Regions from separate parts of the Homo sapiens genome. Here region 2 is linked to region 1. The links are contacts of gene promoters, found by promoter capture Hi-C in blood cells and fetal thymus (Javierre and others, 2016). All regions are on one chromosome and are shown on one strand. Each heading gives the region's core, a stretch centred on a gene start or on the middle of the fragment in contact. The rest is flanking DNA. Distances are from core to core; before and after follow the strand shown. Region 1 holds the start of MATR3 (matrin 3). Region 2 overlaps CTNNA1-AS1 (CTNNA1 antisense RNA 1).

Evidence for each region. The method cuts DNA at HindIII sites, captures the fragments that hold promoters and counts their contacts. A CHiCAGO score of 5 or more calls a contact.
Region 2: a fragment that was not itself captured here is called in contact with the fragment with the promoter of MATR3 in region 1 in 1 of 17 cell types (endothelial precursors); the score reaches 5.2 in endothelial precursors.

Annotation. Positions count from the first base shown.
Region 1 is chr5:139,292,467-139,295,048 of GRCh38, forward strand. MATR3 (matrin 3) reads left to right here and starts at 1,274. Exons shown (of 15, transcript NM_018834.6): 1 at 1,274-1,339. It overlaps LOC124901081 (a long non-coding RNA gene), which reads right to left and starts at 1,091. Exons shown (of 4, transcript XR_007058956.1): 1 at 808-1,091. RefSeq lists enhancers at 1,346-2,049, 2,050-2,582. The HindIII fragment of the contact is 8,607 bases long and covers 1-2,582 here.
Region 2 is chr5:138,747,676-138,750,257 of GRCh38, forward strand. The region is part of intron 1 of CTNNA1-AS1 (CTNNA1 antisense RNA 1); the gene reads right to left. Among named protein-coding and RNA genes, the nearest start is that of CTNNA1, 4.5 kb to the right of the region's middle. The HindIII fragment of the contact is 805 bases long and covers 886-1,690 here.

The DNA of each region.
Region 1 (2,582 bases), core at 24-2,523:
AGTTGCAGCCAGATTAGGTCTCCAAACAATTTACTTAAGCCTCTGAAGGCCGGAGCTCAAATCCCTCCAACCCGGGTACCTAACCAGTACCTCAGTCCCAAGAGTGTATTGCATTCAGTCAAATTCACCAAAAGGCGGCGGTGGTCTTTAGGAAGGAAAAGGCTCGCGGTCCTCCGCCTCAACGACCCTCCTGCACAGAATTCCTGATTTTAAAAACCAGCTGGCCACTTTGGGAGGCCGAGGCGGGCGGATCACAAGGTCAGGAGATCGAGAGCATCCTGGCTAACACGGTGAAACCCCCGCCTCTATTAAAAATGCAAAAAGAAATTAGCCAGGCGTCGTGGCGGGCGCCTGTAGTCCCAGCTACTCCGGAGGCTGAGGCAGGAGAATGGCGTGAACCCGGGAGGCGGAGTTTGCAGTGAGCCGAGATCGCGCCACTGCACTCCAGCCTGGGTGACAGAGTGAGACTCCGTCTCAAAACAAAAAACAAAACAAAAAAAACAGCTGGCTGGGCGTGTAGGCTCACGCCCTTAATCCAATGCTGAGAGGCGGAGGCGGGAGCACTGCTTGAGCCAAGGAGTTCCAGACCAGCCTAGGCAAAATAACGAGACACCATCTCTACGGAAAAAATAAAAATAAAAAAGTTAGCTGGCCATGGTGGTGCGAGCCTGTAGTCCCAGCTACTGGGGAGGCTGAGGTGGGAGGATCCCTTGAGGATAGGAGTTCGAGGCTGCAATGAGCCATGATAACGCCAGCGCACTCCAACCTGAGCAACACAGTTTATTTATGATAAATAAATAAACATACCTAAATAAAAACCAGCCAAAATGGTATCGTTTTCCCTTTGTGGCCCCAATATCTGGCGCTTTCCACCATTCCTTGGCAAACAGAACAACCAGAGAGCATAAAAGTCGAGTCTAAGCCAGGGACTCTCGCGAATCCCTTCTAAGGCATACCCTATTTAAACTTTGTATTATGCTATTCAGGAGGTTGACAAACAGCCTTTTCGGGAATGGGACTCGAACTCGTAAGCCACGTCTGTTCCTCCATTTCCCGCCTCAGCTGGATGACGGAGAGGGATCTCCGGGATTAAAGAACAACGACCGCAGGCGAGTGCACGAGCGAGGTGCGCGCGCTGAGTAGGGGGAGGGGCCTGGCGCGCGCCGAACCAGATCGAGGGGGTGGGGGCGAGCTCTCTCGCGAGAGTGGGTTTGTTCTTGGGCTGCAGCCGCTGCCGCCGCTTCTCGCCAGCGCCGTTGCTGCGGGGGATTGTGGGAGTCTCCGCGTCCCGCTCGCTGGGAGAGAGGTACCTCTCCTTTTCCCTCTCCCTTTCCCTAAGGTAGGCGTGAAGCGGGTAAGAGTCGGGGTCGGGTGGCTGGGGGTTCTCCGTGTCCGCCGGGAGGGGACAACGACGGCGACAGGGGCTGCGGGGAGCCGGCGGCGCGCCTTTCTTGCTCGCTCCCGCTCTGCCTCCCTCCGCGTTGCGTATGTGAGCCGCCTGATCGGCGGCCGCCATGTTAGGAGCGCAGTGGCGGCGCAACCAGCCTTCTAGGGCGGCGGAGGTGAGCGGTCCGGGAGGGAAACACGCGGCCGGCCAAGGGCCCAGGGTGCGGCGGGAGATTTTGGGTGAAGAGGTGCGCTGACCGGCCGAGCTTCCTGCGCGTCCTGGGCTCGTTGTGGGCGGGGGCGGGACGACTAGCCCGTTACACGCGGGCCGCGGCGCTGAGGGGGAGGGAGGAGCTCGCTCGAGGCCTGAGGGACAGACTGTACACTGGGGGCTTGCCGTTTGAGGAGGATGGTTAAGATATCTAAGTCCTTGGGTAGCGCCAGTGCCAAATAACCCGTTCGCCTTTTTTTCTCTGAAAATGTTCCCCCAAAATGGAGGATTTCGCAGACTCTGAAGAGCCTGCTTGTTTGAGCAGCGTTTCTTTCTTTTCCCGGTGTCTCGGCCTTCACGCCGCTCCTTGCCCATCGCCTCAGAGCGCCCCCTAAGACTCCCGGCCCACACGCGCGCGCGCGCGCGGCGTTAGCTGGACATCAGAAACAATTCCTCCCCGCCCCCCATCGCGTAAAAATGGCCGAAAAATGAAACGTTAACGCTTGTTTTTCGTACTGCGTCGTGGAACAAGCCGCCTGCAGTACAGTGCGAGGCGGGTGATTTGCACTTGTTTAGTCAAGTCACCTCACATCCTTTTTCTCTTTATCAAAATAGTATTAGTCCAGGTTCCTCCAGAGAGGATCGTGTGGTGTGGGACCTTCCGGTTTCCAGACAAAGGGTTTTGGAGTACCGTGGTGTAGTCGCCGCATCGTTCTTTGCATTTCGAGCTCTGTGCCATGTTCTGTGTTCGGCATTTACCGTGGATGAATATCCCCTAGGTGTTTATCCTGCTCTGTGGCCCTGTTCTGTGGAATATTCCTATTGGATCAGTTACAGTTTTTTAGCCAGATATTTCTAGAACGGTTATGGTGGTTCTGAAATGGCTAGTCTTTCGGGCGCGCTGGAATAATGTGAAGAATCGTTGATTTCGTAGGTAGGGGTCACGAGATTTTGTATTGGTACTGCGTTCTGTGTTTTAAACCTT
Region 2 (2,582 bases), core at 38-2,537, 540 kb before region 1:
AAGTGCTGGGATTACAGGTGTGAGCCACCGCACCCAGCCAAAGTTTTTAACTTTTTTTGATCTCAAGACTCCTTTACACTATAAAAAATTTGAAGATCTCAAAGAACTCTTGCTTATGAAAGTTTTATCTATCAATATTTACTATAGGCCTGGCAGGGTGGCTCACACCTGTAATCTCAACACTTTGGGAGGCTGAGGCAGCAGGATCACTGAGGCTTGGAGTTCAAAACCAGCTTGGTCAACAGAGTGAGACCCCTGTTTCTACAAAAGAAAAATTTAAAAATTAACCACACGTGGTGGTGTGCATCTGTAGTCCCAGCTACTGGGGAGGCTGAGGTGGAAGGATTGCTTGCACCTGGGAGATCAAGGCTACACTGAGCTATGATAGCACCACTGCACTCCAGCCTGGGCAACAGAGCAAGACCCTGTATTAGAAATTAAAATAAACAATTTCAAAATATTTATTAATTCATTAAAAAATAACAATAGCAAGTCCATTACATCTTATCAATAAATAACATTTTTGAAAAGAAAAATAACCATGTTTTCTAAAACAAAAGAAAAATTCAGGGAGAACTGTTGTTGTTTTGCATTTTTACAAATCTCTATCTGACTTAATAAAAGATAGCTGGATTCTCATATGTGCTTTCACATTGCATGTGATGCCACATCATACATCATTTAGCCTGTGGAATACTCTACTGTACACCCGGGAGAAAATGAGCATAAAAAAGCAAATGATATTTTAGAATTATTGTGAAAATAGTTTTTACCACATTACTCCCTGAAAAGTTATCAGTGATGTCCAGACTATACTTTGAGAATCCCTGCTCTAACATTTAGAGGTTAGGAGGAATTAGAAGTCATCATCAATGGAGACTAAGAAGCTTAGCCAGGAAGGCTGGATGGAAATCAGGAAAGCCTGGTGCCCTGGAGGCCCAATGAAGAAAGTGTTTCAAGGAGGAGAGTGACCAAATGCTGCTGATTGTACAAGTCAACTGAGGAAGGACGGACCATTGGATTTTGCAACGTGGAGGCCATCAGGGACCTTCATAAAAGCAGTTTTGGTGGAAAGGCGAATGCTAAAGCCAGACTGGAGATGAGTCACCACATAAAGGTCACTTCTCAGGTCTCCGAATCCCAGGGTAGTTAATTTACCCACAAACCTACATGTATCTCTCCCCTATCTTCACACTTGCCTTTCTTTTTTCCTGGTTTACGTGTGTGCCTGTGTGTGTGTGTGTGTGTGTGTGTGTGTGTGTATTGACACAGGGTCTCAATCTGTTGCTCAGGCTGGAGTGCAGTGGTGCAATCTCGCCTCACATCAAACTCCACCTCCCTGGCTCAAGTGATCCTCCCACCTCAGCCCTCTCCACATAGCTGGGACTACAGGTGCATGCCACCACACCCAGCTAATTTTTGTATCCTTTGTAAAGACAGGGTTTTGCCATGTTGTGCAGGCTGGTCTCCAACTCCTGAACGCAAACGATCCTCCGCCTCAGCCTCCCAGAATGCTGGAATTACCGGCATGAGCCACCGTGCCCAGTCAGTTTACCTGTTTTAGTATCTGTCTTCATCATTACCTTTAAGTGGTGTGAAAACAGGGATCAAGTCAGTCTCAGTTTTTATTCACTTCCTCAGCACACAGCAAGTGCCTGGGATATAGAGAATGCTCCAGCCTTCCCTGGTAAGCTTTTCACGATTTCTCAGGAGTAGGAAACTGACTCTCTTTAGGCACACTGCAAATCTCTCATATCTTCCTGTCACCTTACCCTTCTTTTCCCAAAACAAACCCTGTAATTTCATCTTCAGGGTCCCATGCTTAGAGAGATCCCATGCTGGCTGGGCGCAGTGGCTCACACCTGTAATCCCAGCACTTTGGGAGGCTGAGGCAGGCAGATCACAAGGTCAAGAGATTGAGACCATCCTGGCCAACATGCTGAAACCCCATCTCTACTAAAAATACAAAAATTAGTTGGGCGTGGTGGCAGGCGCCTGTAGTCCCAGCTACTTGGGAGGCTGAGGCAGGAGAATCGCTTGAACCCAGGAGGCGGAGGTTGTAGTGAACCGAGATCACACCACTGCACTCCAGCCTGGTGACAGAGCAAGACTCCGTCTCAAAAATAAATAAATAAATAAATAAAAATAAAAAAATAATAATAATAAAGAAAGAGCCCATGCTTGGTTTAATACTCTGCTGTTGCTGTCTTAAAATGGTTAATAGTTTTTGAACAAGGGGCCTTAAAATTAAGAATCTTGTCCCGAGTGAAATGATGAATATACAAAGTTATGGAGCATAATCCTTTAACTCTGTCTCTTGTTACTTTATCCAAATACTTTATTGACTGATTACTATTGTGTTAGGCTGTTCTTGCACTGCTAAAAAGAAATACCTGAGACTGTGTAATTTATAAAGAAAAAACAGGCCGGGTGCGGTGGCTTATGCCTGTATCCCAGCACTTTGGGAGGCTGAGGCAGGCGGATCACCTGAGGTCAAGAGTTCGAGACCAGCCTGGCCAACACGGTAAAACTCCGTCTCTACTGAAAATACAAAAATTAGCCGGGCGTGGTGGTGTGCACCT